2 separate regions of the Homo sapiens genome follow, and region 2 is linked to region 1. The links are contacts of gene promoters, found by promoter capture Hi-C in human tissues and cell types (Jung and others, 2019). All regions are on one chromosome and are shown on one strand. The core of a region is centred on a gene start or on the middle of the fragment in contact, and the rest is flanking DNA. Distances in the headings are between cores, read along the strand shown.

What was found. Contacts are between HindIII fragments. The study calls those that stand out against the background at their distance.
Region 2: a fragment that was not itself captured here is called in contact with the fragment with the promoter of ST6GAL2 in region 1 in 1 of the 25 tissues and cell types used here (dorsolateral prefrontal cortex).

Annotation. Positions count from the first base shown.
Region 1 is chr2:106,884,178-106,889,341 of GRCh38, forward strand. It overlaps ST6GAL2 (ST6 beta-galactoside alpha-2,6-sialyltransferase 2), which reads right to left and starts at 1,990. Exons shown (of 6, transcript NM_001142351.2): 1 at 1,916-1,990. It overlaps LOC124907864 (a long non-coding RNA gene), which reads left to right and starts at 2,356. Exons shown (of 2, transcript XR_007087169.1): 1 at 2,356-2,930. The HindIII fragment of the contact is 7,907 bases long and covers 1-5,164 here.
Region 2 is chr2:107,422,827-107,427,990 of GRCh38, forward strand. All of the region lies in intron 2 of LINC01885 (long intergenic non-protein coding RNA 1885), which reads right to left. Among named protein-coding and RNA genes, the nearest start is that of LINC01789, 60 kb to the left of the region's middle. The HindIII fragment of the contact is 5,422 bases long and covers 136-5,164 here.

The DNA of each region.
Region 1 (5,164 bases), core at 740-3,239:
CCCTTCGCTATTTAATCTTTGCTGGCTGGATTGGCCACAACTCCCTAGACTCAACTTATGTCTTCACCCCACAGAGTAAACCTTTTCCCTCTTAATTATCCTCATCAGAAACTCAACACAGATAACTGCCCTCTTCTGCATAATAAATCATTCACATATTTTCAAATGTTAAATTGTCTCAACTTTGAATCCTCTAGTCTAAAAATCCTGAATTTTGTATCCTTGCTTCCTAGATCCTGTGCACCACATAGCAAACTCACCAAATGTTGGTCCTTGCTCTGACCTCACTCTTTCCAGGAGTATCCATCCAAAGCCTCTCTAAACTGTGGAGCTCAGTACTCCATATAAAGCAGTGACTCCTATCACAATCTCTACAAGACATTTAACTCAAAACTCCAGAAGCTTTCACAGCACCAAGCAAAAATGTAAGATGCTACCATTTGTATCTATTGCGGCAAAAATTGGATAGAGTGCCTTTTTAACTTTGCAGTAAAATTCAAGGCACTTCACCTATTATTTTAGACTTTCATCAGTTTTGAGCACAATATCCATTCACCTTTGCCAACAGTTTCTTTTAATGCATTAGTACAAAATTCCTCAAGTGGTATATAAAAATTTTGGTTGTCAGTTCCAGAAAAATAATGGGGGAAGGAGAGTGGGTAAAAACAGGTTCAAGGCCACACATCAGTTTTCCTTTTAAAAAAAGTTTTAACCCTAAATTTGCAGCGCATATATATATATATATATATATATATATACATACACACACACACATATATACATATGTGTATGTATATACATATACATCATATATATATAGCACTTCACTTTATTGGAATTCTTCCTTGGTCATAAATTATATTTCAAGTTGGCAAAAAATGTTGATCAGAATTTCAAAAAAGGGAAGCATCAAAGTAACCAGCATGGGGTTTTTCAAGTGTGCAGAAAGTTCTCTAAATACAAAATGTGCTTCCAGCCCACCAAAGACCCCCCTCACCCAAGCAGGCAGTCCTCGGCGAGGAGGGTCAGCATGCCCCTTTATGGTCAGAACGGCAGTGGTGCAAAAGACAATGATTTCAACCAAATATGGTTTGCCTCTCGCCAAATTTTTCGCATGTCCAATAAAAATAAGTTCACAAAAATCCAGCCAAGCATTACTTTCCCCCCAAAAGTGCTTCTCAGATTACAAAACAGCTTTGAAAGTTCAGCCTGACAAAACAAATATGGTACTAGGAGGAGAGACCTGGAAGGCAATCACAAAAAGTCTCATTTAAATTCCTGGAAAGCACAGCTTCTCCAAACACAGCTATTCAGCTCTTTGGAAGGCAGCACTTGCGGGAGCCATTGAGTTTAACTTCACTCAGTCCCCCAACACAGAACCGGCAAATCCGAATGAGATGGACGTCACACTCCCTACTCAAAAGAATGCATCAAATATCCACTCCGTAACACCGCGGAAAGTAAACCCAAAAGCGGAGTTTGCCGCCTGCCAACTACATAAGAATTAACACTCGGGTATTTAGGATTCTAAAGATCCCTACTACCCCAAACATTATAGCCACAGAGAACCAGAAATGAACAGAACACACTTTAACCTTTAAGAAGTGCAGTTTTGTACGGGGGTTGGCTGAAGAAAGACAAAAATCTTCACTCCCTTCCAGAGCCAAAAGAGCCAAAATAAAAGATCACCTTTACTGAGCCACAGGGGCACAACTGTATCCGCCCGTCCCCAAAGCGCAAGCCGTCCTCCCGTTCGCTTCTCCAGAATTTCCTGCTTTTCCCCAAACCACCTTCAACATTCCCCACACACGGGTCTCGCTCCTAAACACGGAGTGTAACTCCGCGCACAGCAGCGCGGAGGCTGCAGCGCCACCAAGAAAGGCGTCGCCAACCCTTACCCAGTGCCCTCCCTTACCAGCCTTCTTCCCACGCCGCGCCTCGAAGCGCACGACACCGTGGTGCTCGGTGCTCCCCCTGGCAGCGCGGCACTGGAGTCCAAGGCGTGCGTGTCACATTTTATTCCCCGGCAGCCGCTCGGGTGCGCGCGCTACGCGCTCCCACACTCACGCTGGCGCCCGCTAGAGCTGGGACCCTGGCCGGGGTCCCCGACTCACGCCGCGGAACTTGGGGGCTGCAGAAGGCGAGTGCGCGGCGGGAGTCGTCCTGCCGCAGGCTCGAGTCCTCCTCCTGCCACCGTGGGGTCTCGGAGCTGCCCCGCGCTCCCGTCCCAGGCGGCCTGCGGGATCACCTCTCCGGGGCCAGCGCTGCTCCGCGCCGGCGGCAGCTGCAAGCGCGGGCGGCGGGGCACAGCGGGTGGCTCGGCCTCAAAGCCGGCGGGAGGCTACGCTCAGCCCCGCGCTGCACGCCTCATTGTTTCGGGCAGCGCGGCGGCGGCTCCCGCGGCCAGAGGAACCGCGGCCCCGAGCCCCGGGGAGAGGCGGCGGTTCCCGGCCCACGCACCGAGGCTGCGCCGCGCCCCGCCCCCGAGCTCCGCTCGCCCCAGAGCCCCCTCCCTCTCCGCGATCCCTTTCATCCTTCCCGCTCCAGGCTCACCTAGCTGGCGGGAGCCGGGCACTGGGAAGTTGGGCTGCCCCCTCCCCGCGCCCCCGGCCCGGCAGCTCGGCCCGCCGGCGAGCGCAGGCGGGGCGCTCCCTGGCTGCGCGCGGATTTCTGCTTGTCGCGGAGAGTGACTGCAGACTTGGGCTGCGTGGGGCGGTGCGGGGCAGCACGGCTGCCTAAAAAGGCGTGTTTCTCCCCGGCCGCCGCCTCCATCCAGCCCTAGTTCTTCCGAAGGTTACCTGCACAGTACCCGCCTGGCACCGCGCCTGGACACCTCCGGGGCACTCGGGTCCCGGGCGGCGGCAGGAATGCAGGAATGCGCACAGGCTGTGGGCGGCCAGGAGGGAGTCCCGGCGCCTGCCCCGGCGGAAGTGAGTCTTTGTGTACCCTGTCCAACACCTCCCCCCGCCAGCGCGGAAGGCCGGGCTACCTGCGCGCCTGGCAGCGCCTGGCAGCCGGCTGGGTGGGGCGCAGGGGAGCGCAGCATCCTCCCCGGCTCGCTAGCTCCCTTTGTTCATCTCGCTCAACCAGGCTCCGCACTGCCGCCTGGCCCTCGCTCCCAGAGCTTCTCTAAGGATATGGGATGGACTTGGGAGCGGGCCACCTTTCATTTGGGAAGGGTAGCTCGCCAAGTCCGGTGACGGTGCTCCCTGGAGACCCCCACCTGCCCGCCCCTCCACACTGCCGGTCCCCAACCCCAAGAGGGACGGAAAGTTCTTGGGGTAGAAGCCGGCGGGACAAGTGGTTGAAGCAGCCTCCGGAGCCAGTGGGCGGCTGCGAGCTGGGCAGCTGGAGCCTGCGGGCGGGGCCGCGGGGAGGTGCCCATCGAGTGTCGGTCTGGTCGCGTGCGGAATGTCCACTTGTCACCGCGGCCCTTGCGTTTTCTCGAGACGGCGGCAGCTGGTCCTAGGACCCCAAACCGCGCCGCCCTTTGTTTGCTGGTAAATACTCTCCTGTGAACTTCAGCGTGTCTCTCCGCGCGCACTCCTGGCATTGGGTGCCCCACCCCGCTGGTTCTCTCGCGGACCCAAAGAGCTGTTCAGGTGTAGGGGAATCCCAGGTAGATGGATAATATTGCTAAGGTTGGGCCCATCTCAGGGGGACTGGTTAGTCACCCCTCACCCCACCCCACACCCTCAGTCGCTAGAAGGACACACGTTTTGGAGACAGAGATCTGCCATTAAATGTATTATTTAAAAATCCGCAAATACTTTTATTCAAGTAATTTAGACTTTTTTTTTAGGGGGGAAAAAGCAATTAACTGGCTACCCAATTCATTCAGCATTCATTAGTGCCTACCTTAGCCTGGAACTCTGAGCTAGACAGTGGGCGCCCAGAACTCCCTCAAAGAGTTTACAGAAATGTAAAACAGCACGGGAATTAAACTAAAATCGAGTGGGTATAATGCACTGTGTTCAAACAAAAGTGTGGGCCGAAAACGCTTACTCAGTATTTCCCCAATTGTATTAATTATGTCTGACACATGGAATTCTGCGGAACTGCCTGAATGAACAATGTGTTACACAGATATTTTTTAAAAAAAGAAAAATTATGGCCGGGCGCGGTGGCTCACGCCTGTAATCCCAGCACTTTGGGAGGCCGAGGCGGGTGGATCATGAGGTCAGGAGATCGAGACCATCCTGGCTAACAAGGTGAAACCCCGTCTCTACTAAAAATACAAAAAATTAGCCGGGCGCGGTGGCAGGCGCCTGTAGTCCCAGCTACTCGGGAGGCTGAGGCAGGAGAATGGCGTGAACCCGGGAAGCGGAGCTTGCAGTGAGCCGAGATTGCGCCACTGCAGTCCGCAGTCCGGCCTGGGCGACAGAGCGAGACTCCGTCTCAAAAAAAAAAAAAAAAAAAAAAAAAAAAAAAAGAAAAATTATATTTTATAAATGTGAAATACATACAGTGTGGTTAAAAGTGACCAAAACAAAACAGAAACAAACAACCTGATAGAGACCCATAGCTGGTGGGGATAGAGAAAGGAAATACTGCAGAAAGACTCACCTTCTTAATAGTAGAGGGGCGCAGAGGGGGTTGCAAAGTCTGTGGGCTTCTGTTTCTCTTCTGTATAATGGATGTAATAGTACCTACCTTCAGCCTGGCGCGGTGGCTCACACCTGTAATCCCAGTACTTTGGGAGGCCGAGGCGGGCGGATCACGAGGTCAGGAGTTCGAGACCAGCCTGGCCATAATGTTGAAACCTGTCTCTACTAAAAATACAAAAATGAACCGGGCGTGGTGGCAAGCGCCAGTAGTCCCAGCTACTCGAGAGGCTGAGGCAGGAGAATCGCTTGAACCTGGGAGGCGGAGGTTGCAGTGAGCCAAGCTGGTGCCACTGCACTCCAGCCTGGGTGACAGAGAGAGACTCCCTCTCAAAAAAAAAAAAAAAAAAAAAATTATATAGTATCTATCTTCAAGGTTTGTTGTAAGTAGAGAGCATGTGTTAAAAGCATCTCCCCCAGTGCCTGACATGTTATACCTAATAAATTGTAGTAATTAATAAATGACAGTGGCCATTATTAAAACACTTTACCTTGAAACAGAAAAAATTGTACACTTTTTATAGTGTATATATATCTTATACACTTACTATCCTTTCTGC
Region 2 (5,164 bases), core at 1,597-4,096, 540 kb after region 1:
TTAGAACCTTATTATCCTGGTTTCAAAAACGATTTCAAAACACTAATTAAAGGCCTAGCTCTCCTTGGAGGCAGATTGTTTTATTCAAAGGCCGGTTAGGAAGCAGAATTAGAAGTAAAAAGAAATATTCTCTAGGCCACTTCATTGGCCCTTTTTCTTCCTCTCACTTAAAAACTTTAAGATGGGAGAACATCAAAGTTGGGAATAAGTTGTATGACTCAGTGTTAGAAAAAGAGTTCCTGGGGACTGTCGATTGCATCTAGATCAAGCTGCTTAGACAATCTCGTCAGCCCATAGCAGGTGGTGAGCAGTAAAATGCTGGAGAACATTGCCATAGTAGTCAAACTCCATGAAGACCATTTTGGAGTACTTTGAAACTTTTATCTATTGAGTCTGATATAAGAGTAAATGAAACATTACAGTCCAGTGTTGGGACAACCAGCTGCAGCTCTTAGACCCTCCAATTAGAGTTAGGTTCCTGGTTTCCCATCTGACCTAAGGGGCCCCCCATCACTGCTCCCTGAACTCACGTGTCTGTGCCTTCACAGGGGGCTCTTTTATAGTACTGCAAGTAATTTTCCACCATGAACCATTCAGTCTCCAAATAATACATTGGCTGTATAATATTTGTTGCTGTCTGCCCATCTTAAGTGATTTGGATTTCATATGCATATAATTTCTAATTCAAATTGCATCTATATGTGGCCATAAAATTCACATCAGTTCAGGTGGAAAGTTGATCAGAAGCTTGTTCAGTATCACTGGCTGAGTTGTGAGCACCATCTTTCTGATGACTTTCTTATTGTAAAATCTGGGAAATGCCTTCTTTGCTGGAAGATACTATATTTTTTCTTAGTTTCTGCAGCACCCAATGCCAAACAAATCCCTCTGCAATGACTGGTAAACTGGGCAATACTGGAGCCAGGATTGACACATTTAGAAGGAGTGCCTGGGCTCAGTAGTGTAACTACAATGTTTTATGGGGTTTTAGAGGCTTCTGATTGTATACCATAATTTGAATTACCTCCCAAAAAGTAAGAGGCCATTTTCTGAAATAATGCCTTGATTGATTGATTTATGTTACATTTTCAGAATACAAATCATCCCTCAGCTATAGATTTTAGCCATGCCCATGGTTGTCGAACTTTTTAAAAAGTTCATCTTTTGAACACAGAGACTGAGTTGAAACTGACTTTTCAAATATGTTTTTGTAGGGTTCATTCTTGAAAACGATAAAAAAGAGTACTGGAAAGTAAGAAAGGAAACACCTAGCAATCTCTTCATAGGGAATAACTTTTTTCCTGTTATTTTCATACCTGCATATCCTATGTAAAAGTTAAAAATAGGCTTTTATCAACAAGTTTGTATTCTGGAACATGTCTAAAAATACAAATGCATCAATGTGAGAAGTTTAGATTTACACTCTTAAGGAAAGGAATACATCTATTCACTCAGAGCCTTTCAAATCTGCAGCTCTGATCACAGTTTGTCTTTGTCACTTGGAGAGCAAATATGTTACCTTTGTGGGAACTGACATTTGTACTGATTGGCTTGTAGGTAGTAGTATAAACAAAATGGATAATATAAGAATCTCTACCACTGCAAACTCAGATATAATTGAGGGAAGAGAGAAAATATTTCCAGTATGTGTAGAAGCCAAAATTGGAGCACAATTCCAACATAGACCTTCAGACCTACCAATTAACAAGAACAAGATATGAACCAATTACTCAGGAGTGGGCAAGATCTAATCTAAGAGCCTGAATGATGAATATTTCCTGGAACAGCTAACATCATTATTAAGATGTGTATTAGAGTTCTCCAGAGAGGTGGTTTGTGAGATTATGGAGGCCCAGAAGTTCCACAATCTACTATATGCAAGTTGAAGAACCAGGAAAAGTGGGGTTGTAATTCAGTCCAAGTCTGAAGACCTGAGAACCAGGGAAGCCAATCATGTGAGTCCTGGTGCAAATCTAAATGCTTAGGAACCATGAACACTAACATATAATGCTAGAAGAAGATAGGTGTCCCAGCTCAGAGAGAGAAAATTCACCTTCCTTCTGCCTTTTTTGTTCTATTTGGACCCTTGATGAATTGAAGGAAGCCCATTTCCCTTGATGAGGGAAATCTTTACTCAGTCTACTTATTCAAATGAAACCCTCACAGACACACCCAGAAATAGCTGTTTATCAGCTATGTGGGCATCCTTTAACCCAGTAAAGTTGACACATAAAATCTACCATCACAAGTCCACCCCTTGTAAACTTCGTACCCATATGCATTTTCTGAAACAACAATCAACCTCCAAATAGAGAAAATAACAGAATCATAATTCCACCTAACATAATAAACTATCCCATACAACCAAAAGTGTGCTAATTCTTTCCCAAGAAGAGGCGTGATGTTTACTCTTCTTCCAATATCCAATATTTAAATACTATGATGTAAAATTAACAATATTTAAATACTGATATAAAGTCAATGTATCTTATGTTACATGATGAAGGAAAAGAGAGGAAAGAAAATAATGACATTTTGCATAATATGTGTATGTATATGCAAATGTATTCATAACAAAATAAAGAGAAAATACTCATGACGATTACAGTCCTCATCTCTGTAACTGGACATATGGTCAAGGCTTATCTTTCTACTACCTTCTTTCACTACCCATTCTGTATTTGCTCTTTGCCTTCAGCAAGCACTTCTGCTGGCCAGAGTTCTTTACCTAGCAGGATTACCCAAACCTTCATTCTTGAAGGATCTGGGACATTCATAGTCCTATTTGGATTGAGTTATTGTAGTTTTTTATTTGCCTTAGTCACAGGCTATGATAATACTAAAATGTTTTCTGAGGGATCTTCAGTATTCCAGGCATGTCTTCCTCATCTCTATTGTGGAGTAGTAGTTCAATTTCTCCTTAGTATTCTGGATCAATCACCTCAGTTCAAGCCACAACTCCCTTCTTGGCCTGTTGACTCAGAGTCATGAGGAGCCCAAAATGACCAGACAGCAGTCTTTACTTCTAGTTCAATAAAATCATTACAGTGTCTCCTGGTGGAATCATTCCTCTCTTTTCAATTTAAACCTCTAGGCCAGCAGAGCATAAAGTTAGTATCTTAGTCTGTTCTGTTCTGCTGTAACCGAATACCAAAGACTGGGTTACTTATAAGGAACAAAAATGTATTTCTTATAGTTCTAGGAGCTGGAAAGTCCATGGTCGAAGGACATCTGGCAGAACCTTCTTGTTTCATCATACCATGGTGAAAGGAGGAAGGTCAAGAGAGCACATGTGCCTGCATGCATAGAAAATAGAGTGCGGAGGTAGAGGACCAAACACATCTGTTCGTCAGGAACTCACTCTCCAGATAACTAATCCATTTATCAAATAATGACATTACTCCATTCATTAAGGCAGAGCCCAGATGACCTCATCACCTCTTAAAGGTTGTACCTCTCAACACTATTGCATTTGGGATTAAGTTCCTAATACATGAACTTTGTGTAACACATTCAAACTATAGCAACCAGGGAACAGGAAACAAACTTGTCTAATAGTTCAGTAGGGGTAATTGTGAATGGTGCCACTCCTATTTCAACCCTTTGATTCCTGGACCCATGATCCTTGCAATGGCAGAAACAGTTACATATGTACTGGATGCTGATTTAGAACATAGCCTTCTGGAGAAGCTTGCCCACCCTGGTAAGGCAGTGCCACCCAGCTGGCACTGCCAATGAGTGTTCAGAAGTCCATTCAACCATTCTATAAAGCTAGCTGCTGCAAGATGGTGGGGAACATGGTAAGTCTAGTGAATTCCATGATCGTGGGCCTGTTGTACTTCTTTGGCTGTGAAGTAAGTTCCTTGTCAGAAGAAATACTGTGTGAAACACCATAATGGTGAATAAGGCATTTTATAAGTTCATGGATGGTAGCTGATATGGTTTGGCACTGTCCTCATTCAAATCTCATCTTGAATTGTAGCTCCCATAATTCCCACATGTCATGGGAGGGACCTGGTGGGAGGTAATTGAGTCATGGGGGTGGGTCTTTCCCGTGCTAGTCTCATGATAGTGAATAAGTCTCACAAGATCTGATGGCTTTATAAAGGGGAGTTCCCCTACACAAGCTCTCTTGCCTGCTGCCATGTAAGATTTCCCTTTGCTCTTCCTTCATTTTCCACCCTGATTTTGAGGCCTCCCCAGCCATGTGGAACTGTGAGTCCATTAAACCCCTTTCCTTTATAAATTACCCAGTCTCAGGTATGTCTTTATTAGCAGCATGAAAACAGACCAATACAGTAGCTTTGACAGAAGCATTGAATGCAGGAAAGGCAAATCCATGTCTAGGGTTAGTGTCTTTCCAATAAGTCAAAACACTTCTCTTTCCTTGATGGAAGTGGCCCAGTGTAATCAACCTGCTACCAGACGGCTGGCTGATCACCTGGGAAATGATCTAACATTGGGGGTTCAGTCCCTCTTGCTGGCAAATTGCATACTCAGTAGTGGCCACAACCATGTTACCTTGATTTATGGAAGTCCACCTTCCTTATCCCATCTCTGCCACCAAGGCTACTTTGTTCATGGCAGTGTCAGCTGGAGAAAAAAGCTGAATTGTATCCACAGCGTGGCTCATTCTAGCCACTTGATTATTAGAATCATCCTTAGCTGAGGTCACCCTTTTGTGAGTATTCACATGGGACACAAATATCTTCATGTTCTTTTTCTGTTCAGAGAGATCTATCTCCATATATATTCTCAAAATTTTTTGTCACCAGTTTTCTACAGATATTACTTCCAAGTCCCTGACCATTTAGACCAAACCATTAGTCACAGCCCATAAGCTGGTACATAATTGCACATCTGCCCATTTCTCTCTCCAAACAAAGTGAATACCAGGTGCACTGCCCAAAGTTCTTCCCAATGGGAGGATTTTCTTCACAACTGTCCTTCAGGGATGTTGTAATGCTGTAATGCTGCAGCTGCCCATATTCAAATGCTTCCTGCCAATTGTGTAGAACCATCTGTAAACTATATCCTCAGACATAAAGCTACTAAACCTTGTAGGATATGTCATCCCACTGGCTACAAATATTGGTTCAAAAGTGTATATGCTACTTAGGCAACTTCAATTCCCAGAAGTTTTACTGGGAATGCTGGAACAAAT